Regions from separate parts of the Homo sapiens genome. Here region 2 is linked to region 1. The links are contacts of gene promoters, found by promoter capture Hi-C in blood cells and fetal thymus (Javierre and others, 2016). All regions are on one chromosome and are shown on one strand. The core of a region is centred on a gene start or on the middle of the fragment in contact, and the rest is flanking DNA. Distances in the headings are between cores, read along the strand shown. Region 1 holds the start of CHLSN (cholesin). Region 2 overlaps COX19 (cytochrome c oxidase assembly factor COX19).

Evidence for each region. The method cuts DNA at HindIII sites, captures the fragments that hold promoters and counts their contacts. A CHiCAGO score of 5 or more calls a contact.
Region 2: a fragment that was not itself captured here is called in contact with the fragment with the promoter of CHLSN in region 1 in 1 of 17 cell types (total B cells); the score reaches 5.7 in total B cells.

The regions. Positions count from the first base shown.
Region 1 is chr7:1,135,850-1,140,068 of GRCh38, forward strand. CHLSN (cholesin) reads right to left here and starts at 2,398. Exons shown (of 5, transcript NM_001318252.2): 1 at 1,466-2,398. RefSeq lists silencers at 1,958-2,007, 2,018-2,467, 2,668-2,807 and an enhancer at 2,528-2,627. The HindIII fragment of the contact is 2,681 bases long and covers 991-3,671 here.
Region 2 is chr7:963,526-967,744 of GRCh38, forward strand. COX19 (cytochrome c oxidase assembly factor COX19) reads right to left here. Exons shown (of 3, transcript NM_001031617.3): 3 at 1,327-4,219. Among named protein-coding and RNA genes, the nearest start is that of COX19, 9.9 kb to the right of the region's middle. RefSeq lists enhancers at 965-1,074, 3,545-4,045, 4,046-4,219. The HindIII fragment of the contact is 2,351 bases long and covers 1,076-3,426 here.

The sequences.
Region 1 (4,219 bases), core at 1,148-3,647:
TGTATTTATATAAATATATAAAAATATATATGAATATATAAATATATAAGTATATATAAAAATATATATAAGTATATATAAATATATAAGTATATATAAATATATATAAATATATATAAGTATATATAAATATATAAGCATATATAAATATATATATAAAATATATATGTATATATAAATATATGTATAAATATATAAGTATATATAAATATATATAAATATAAGTATATATAAATTTATATAAATGTGTATATAAATATATATACATAAATATATATAAATATATACATAAATATATAAATATATATACATAAATATGTATAAATATACATAATTATAAATATATACACAAATATATAAATATATATAAACATATATAAATATATAAAATATATATAAATATATATAAACATATATAAATATATAAAATATATATAAATATATATAAACATATATAAATATATATAAACATAAATATATAAATATATAAACATATAAATATATATAAACATATATATAAATATATATAAATATATAAACATATATATAAATATATATAAACATATATATAAATATATATAAACATATATATAAATATATATAAACATATATAAACATATATAAATATATAAACATATATAAACATATAAATATATATAAACATATATAAATATATATAAACATATATATGAACATATATAAACATATATAAACATATAAACATAAACATATATAAACATATATAAACATATATAAATATATATAAATATATAAAAATAAATATATATATGCGGATGTGTGTATAAACTGTGTATATATATAACTATATATATAACCATATATATGTACTTATATATATCATCTACACATATATCATCTCAAGCTTAAGAATTCGTAATCAATACCCCTGATCACCCTCCACAAACCTGAGCTTCCTAGTGTTCATCCTCTCCATAAACATCCATCTGATGAGGTTCACATAGTAGCTCAAGCTTAAAACCTTGGTCCATCCATAAATCCTCTCTTTCTCACATACTCGTCCAACCCACCACAAACTCCTGTTGGTTTACCACTGAAATACACCCAGAATGTGACTCCCTTAAGATCCCATAGGTACCCAGTCCAAGCCACCACCTCTCACGATGGCTTTTAAACTCCTAAATCAGATGGTGTGTCACCTCCACTCAAAAAACTTCCCAAGCTGTCCCCTTCCACTTGGAGGGAAAGTCAAGGTCCTTGCCACTTGGTAAGGTCCACACGACTGCCCTGGCCCCTCCTCGCATCTCTGGGAACTCACCTCCTCTTTCTCTCTCTGTTCCCAAATTGGCTGCAGCCACACTGGGCTCCCTGCTGTTTCCCCTGCACCTGCTGTTTCCTCGACCTGGAATGTTCTGGTGCCTCACTCCTCCTCCTGCTTCCTTTCCATTCTCAAAACCCCTGTTCTCATCTTCTCCATGGCACTTACCATCACCTGCTCTGTGCACCTTGTTCATCTGTCTCTCCCCTCCAGAATGGAAGTTCACTAGATCACAGACTTGTCTCCACTTGTTGACAGCTGTAGCCCAATGCCCCGAACAGTGCAGGAGGAACCCAATGAACGTTTTTTAAAAATGAATGAATGAATGACGGAAGGAAGGAAACGGAAAGCATGCTTATGATGGAAAGTGAGGCCAAGCGCGTTGGCTCACTCCTGTAATCCCAGCACTTTGGGAGGCCGAGGCAGGAGGATCCATCGCTTGAGCCCAAGAATTCGAGACCAGCCTGGGTAACATGGTGAGACCCCATTTCTACAAAAAACATTTTTAAAAATTATCCGGGTGTGGTGGCGCGCGCATGTGGTCCCAGCTACTTGGGAGGATGAGGCGGGAGGACGGCTTGAGCCCAGGAGGTGGAGGCTGCAGTGAGCTATGATCACGCCATTGCACTCCAGCCTGGGTGGCACAGCGAGACACTGCCTCAAAAATTGAAAAAGAGAAAGTGGGAGCTGAAAGCCTCGGAGGGCAATCAGGGCGTCTTCAGAGAAAGACAATGAAACCAGAGCCACTGCAAGCCCTGACGGCCTGAAACCTAGGAGCCAGCTGAGTCCCTTCCACTCGCCCGCGCTGAGTTAACCCAGAGGCGGGTGCGGGTGTCGGAGCCCGCGCCGGGACGCACCGGCCGCACCGGCCGCACCAGCCTCCCCAGCACCGCGGACCCCAGGGCCGCCGCCCGGTCGCGCCGCGCCGGGCCTCCGCGCACCCACGTGGAGGGGGCGGAGCCCCGCGGGAGCCCGCCCCGGGGCTCTGGGTCTCCTGGCGCCCTGACCCGCCGGCCACCCCGCCGCCGCCCCACGCGCCTACCTGCGCCCACCTGCGCCCACGTCGCCCACCTAAGCGTGAACAGCTGCGTCGCGGACGCCGCCTTCCGGCAGGGACCCGCGCCCCAGGTAAGCGTTAGTCCCGCCTTCAGGAGTGCGGAGCCTCCCATTGGACGAGGTCTGCGTCCGTCTCTCCGCCGGCTAATGGCAAGCGGCGGCAGCACGGGGGGCGGTTCCAGGACCGGGCGCGGGCTACTGACGCCATCTCTAGAGGCCTAGAGTTGCTTGGAGAGGAGCTGGTTGCCAAGGCAACCCGCCCTGCCCAGAACAAGTGCAGATGACTAGGTTTGGGCCCCGCAGGGCTTGGGGGTCTGGGGTGCAAGCTGCCCCGGCCGGGCTGGCGTCCCGGGGTGGGGCCTCCGCCGAGGGTCCAGGGTATGGAGCTCGGCTCGGAGTCGAAATGGATGAGCTACGGCTATTGGGATCAACAGGGCTAGGACTTAAACTTCGTGCTGAATTTAAAAAATCAGGATAGGTGCTAAAAAATACACAGGGTGGGTAGTGTTATAATAATGCTTGTGTCCGGGAGCGGTGACTCACGCCTGTGATCCCAGCATTTTGGGAGGCCCAGGCGGGCGGATCGCTTGAGCTCAGGAGTTCGAGACCCGCCTGGCCAACATGACGAAACCCCGTAACCCCGTCTCTGCTAAAAATACAAAAATTAGCCAGGCGTGGTGGCAGGTGCCTGTAATCCCAGCTACTCGGGAGGCTGAGGCAGGAAAATCGTTTAAGCCCGGGAGGTGGAGGTTGCAGTGAGCCGAGATCGTGCCACTGCACTCCAGCCTGGGCGACAGAATGAGACTCTGTTTTAAAAAATAAAAAATAAATTAAAAAAATAAAAATTAGCCGGGTATGGTGGCACGTGCCTGTAGTTCCTGATACTCTGGACGCTGAGGTGGGAGGATCGCTGGAGCCTGGGAGATGGAGGCTGCAGTGAGCTATGATCAAGGCACTGCACTCCAGCCTGGGCAACAGAGCCAGACCCCGTCTAAAAAAAAAAAAGAAAAAAAAGCATGCTTTCAAGTCACCCAGTAAGTTAAGTGCTTGGCAGCCGTATCAAGTATGATGTACGTTGCCTCAGGAATCCAAAGGTGACAAGCAAAGAAGGTGCACTCTTCCTTACTGGTAGAAGATTGTATTTGGTTCCTTTTTCTGCATAACAAATTAACCCAACATTTAGCAGCCTAAAAGAACATTTATTTTTTCATGGTATCCGCGGTCAGGAAAGTGGGCGTGGCTAAGCTCTGTGCCTTTGCCTCAAGGGTTCACCAAGTTGTGGTCAAGGTGTCCCCCCAGGGTTGTGGTTTCATCGGAAAGCTTATCTGGAATGATCCACTCCCAAGCTCACACACACGGATATTGTAAGGACTCAGTCCTCCAAGGTCATTAGAGAAGGGCCTCAGCCTTGCTGGCTGCTGCCCAAAGGCCACCCTCAGTTCCTTGGTACATGGGCCTTACCACAAGGAAGCTCACAACACTGCAGCTGGCTTGCCTTAGACGGTGCAAGCACACACAAGAGGAGGCACACACAAGACGCACATCACAGTCTCCTTGCACCCTAATCTCAGAAGTGACTTCCCTAGGCTTTTGCCATATTCTGTTCATTAGAAGTCGGCCGGGTGCGGTGGCTCACACCTGTAATCCCAGCACTTTGGGAGGCTGAGGTGGATGGATCACTTGAAGTCAGGAGTTCAACACCAGCCTGGCCAACGTGGCAAAACTCCATCTCTACTAAAAATACAAAAATTAGCCAGGCATGGTGGCATGTACCTATAATCCCAGCTACTCAGGAGGCTGAGGCATCAGAACCTATTGAACCCGGGAGGCAGAGGTTGCAATGAGCTGAGACCGCGCCACTGCACT
Region 2 (4,219 bases), core at 1,001-3,500, 170 kb before region 1:
GACCCCCACCCCCTGGCTCTTCAGAGTGGATGAGTAAGCCCCCAGCCTCCCCTCTGAGTGGGGACACCTGTCGAGGTGCACAGCCGTCCAGAGCCACGAGGGGACCAGACGGACCTGCTGCCGCCCCGGGCCAAGACTGAGCCACCCACACGCCTCACAACCAGGTGTGGGGACAGAAAAATGTCCCTGAAGATGTCTGCATCCTGGCCCCTGGGACCTGTGAACATGGTGCTTACATGGCAGATCGGGTTGTTTGGGACCAAGATGGGGATGGTCCAGGATTAGCAGGACCCGGTGCAGTTCCAAGGGTCCTGAGAGGGAGGCAGGAGGTCAGAGCCGGAGAGACAGGAGCACAGGGGCAGGGGTCGGAGGGATCGGAAGGGGCTGCACTGCTGGCTGGAGGTTGGACCAAGTCCCAGCCCTGACTGAGGTGCCTCGACTCCAGAGAAGGCAGGAAACGGTTCCCCCCAGAGCCCGCTGAGGCGGGAAACGGTTCCCCCCAGAGCCTGCCGAGGCGGGAAACGGTTCCCCCCCAGAGCCTGCCGAGGCGGGAAACGGTTCCCCCCAAGAGCCTGCCGAGGCGGGAAACGGTTCCCCCCCAGAGCCTGCCGAGGCGGGAAACGGTTCCCCCCAGAGCCTGCCGAGAGGACACAGCCCTGTTGGGCTGTTTGTAATTTGAGACAGGGTCTTGCTCTGTCTCCCAGGCTTAAGTGCAGTGGTGCCATCATTGTGCACTGCAGCCTCTATTTCCCAGGCTCAGGCGATCCTCCTGCCTCAGCCTCCTGAGTAGCTGGGACTACAGGTGCATGCCACCACACCAGGGTAAGTTAAAAACAATTTTTTTTTTTTTTTTGTAGAGACAGGGTTTCACTACGTTGCCAGGGCTGGTCTCAAACTCCTGGCCTCAGGCGATCCTCCCACCTTGGCCTCCCAAACTGCCGGGATGACAGGTGTGGGCCATCGTGTCTGGCCTGGGCCCCTTTTGGACTCTGCTCTGGAATAGTAATGCTTGCGGTGCTCTAAGCCGCTGGGCTTGCAGTAATCTGTTACTGTGGCCAGAGGAACCGATACAGGAAGCTTCAGGAAGTCAGTTTGCCTTGCTCCTGAGGCCTGGGTGGAACAGGTCCAGTGCTGAGCTCCGGCTACACGGCCTGTGCAAACGAGGCCCCACGCATCAGCCCTGGGGCTGCAGACCCGACCCTGGGGGGCTCTGGGCCTCCAGGTCAGACCTCCCCTCCTGGGAAGCCACACCGGGCCAGGCCTGCGACCACGCTACCTCCGGTTTACCTCATGCCCAAGGGGAACGCTTGGAAAACGCTCTGGAAATTGTCTTTGGGAGCCTTTTAATAATGTGGCCAGCTTATCATGACAAGCGTCTATGAGAAATAAAATGCATTCTGCACATGACAGATGATGAACTACCCGAAATATCTCGTGAGAAGCTCTGGCAGGAACAGCAGGGTGTCTGGATTCTTAAGCACAACACATTCAGCAGCCAGACCCAGAAACTCAAAGGCAGCGTTGGGAAGCCACTGCACGTTTGTAAGGAGTCAGGTTGTCCACACAATGGCGCTATTTTGGGATTCCGGCTTCTCTGCCTGTGACCTGCTGAAACCATTCATGCCGGCATCATGCCTATTGGAAACTCTTTGAAGTTATTTTGAAACGAGAATCGACTCAATCTATTCCACTATAGTTTCATACAAAGCATATTTTTTTTTCCTCATTTCAAAATAATTTCAGACTTCCAAAAAGTTCCAAAAATAGGACAGTGTGTATACCCAGTTCCCCAAATAACATCTTACATAACACTGGGCCAGCGCTGCCAGTCACTTCGCAGAAGGCTCCTCGGTTTGGGTCTGTGTCTGTTGTCTCCTTGGGATTACATTCAGGCCATGCAGTTGGGCAAGAGAACCAGAGGTGATACCGTGCCCTCAGGGACGCCCCCAGGTCGGTGCGGCCTGTGCGGCTCGCTCCCGGCGGTGGCTGCTGGGTTAAGGGGGCCTCTGCCGTTCTGCTGTGACATGACTGTCTCCTCGGAGGTCACTATGCATCTCAAGGGGAGGTTTCTCAAGACAGCAGACACCTGCTTCACACCACACGTCACCACTCACTTCATGGCAACTGAGGGTTTTTTTTTGAGACGGTTCTGTCGCCCAGGCTGGAGTGTGGTGGCACAATCCCTGCTCACTGCAACCTCTGCCTCCTGGTTTAGGCAATTCTCCCACCTCGGCCTCCCGAATAGCTGGATTACAGACACACGCCACCAGCCCCAGCTAATTTTTGTATTTTTAGTAGAGACAGGGTTTCTCCATGTTGGCCAGGCTGGCCTTGAACTCCTGGCCTCAAGTGATCTGCCTGCCTCGGCCTCCCAAAGTGTTGGGATTATAGGCGTGAGCCACTGGCGCCCGGCCCGCTGAGGGTTGTAATCTGCACCTGTCACCAGTGTGGTTTCTGCAACAGCAGTTTCCTGTTCCCAAAATTTCTTCTATATTAGAATTAATAAGACAGACCTGGCCCTCCCCCCACTGACATGTTTACGCAATTACTTATGTTGTATAGACTACTGGATATCAATTTATTCTGAGGGCTACAGCCCATTACAATAATTAATTTTCTTTCTTTTTTTTTTTTTTTTTTCCTTTGGTGAGACAGGGTCCGGCTCTGTTGCTCAGGCTGGAGAGCAGTGGTACAATCACAGCTCACTGCAGACTTAACCTCTGGCTCAAGTGATCCTCCTGCCTCAGCTTCCTGAGTATCTGGGACTACAGGCGGGTGACACCACGCACGGCTGACTTTTCTTGTTTTGTAGAGACAGGGTTTCACCCATGTTGCCCAGGCTGGTCTTGAACTCCTAGCCTCAAGTGATCCTCCCACCTTGGCCTCCTAAAGTGCTGGGATTGCAGGCGTGAGCCGCTGCGCCCAGCCTGTTTATTTTCACGCTCACACTGCCCCAGGCTGGCCACCGTATGCTCCTTCCCATCCCCCCGTGTTATTTCAACAAGTCTCCTCATCCCAGCAATTCTTCACTCTCTAGCTCATCTGATACCTTCTCTGGCCTGGCCCTGGTTCCTTTTGGTTACAGAATGGTATCAGGGCCAAGACCCTGAGTGCACGGGTCACTGCGTCCAGGCCCTCAAGAGCTGGGAAGCATTTGTGCACAGCCCCTCACAACAGTCCCCCTTACACACGGTTTCAGTTACCCATGGTCAGCCACAGTCCAAAAATACTAAGTGGAAAATTCCAGAAATAAACCATTCATGAGTTTTTGATTCTGTGCTGTTCTGAGCAGCCGTCCTGCTGGGACATCAACCCTCCCTCCGTCCAGCGTTTCGGGCCATCCACGCCACCCTGCCTGCCAGGCACTCAGCAGCCATCTCGGTGATCAGACCAGCCATCGCGGTGATGTGGTGCTTGGGTCCAAGAAGCTTTTATTTTACTTAAGAATGGCCCCAGAACAGGACAGTGGTGATGCTGGCGACTCAGACACACCAGAGAAGCTGCCAAGCGCTTCCTTTAAGGGAAAAGGTGGAAACTCCTGACCTATAAGAAAAACAGCCAGATGCCGAGGTTGCTAAGATCTCCGGTAAGAACACAGTGCCCATCTGTGACATTTTGAAGAGGGAAGCACGAAGTTCTGTCAGTTTTGCTGTCACATCTCAGACTTGATCACAGGTACGTACAGGAAAAAACAGCGCCTGGACAGGATTCGGGACTATCCGCGGCTTCGGCACCTGCTGGGGTCTCGGAGCACACCCTGGCCAGGTGAGGGCGATCACTCCGTTTCTCTATCCAGTTACCTTTGTACGTTAGAAAAGCAGGAGCTCAATACACCTGGCTCTCATCATCCACGATGTATTTCTAGTTTTTTCCATCTCAGAATACAGCTTCAGAATCGTCCACGCAAAAAACAAATTTACTACTTAGAGTACAGTATCTTTCCTGTCTTTCCCACCTTTGGTCGACGGTCTTCCCCACACTCCTGATGGGTCAGAGTGCGGTGCGAGCGGAGAGGCAGGCCCGACCCGGGCCTGGGCACTCCCGACGGCGGGTCAGAGTGCGATGGGAAGAGGCCCCGGCCTGGGCCCGGGAGCTCCGTCGGCATGGTCTGTTGTGTTCCCCTCACATCCTGGTTCATTTACTTTTTGAGCATGTGAAACCCTCTGCCATGACAGCCAGAACTCCACCCCCAGGGGTGCTCGGAGGGGCTCGCGGCCGG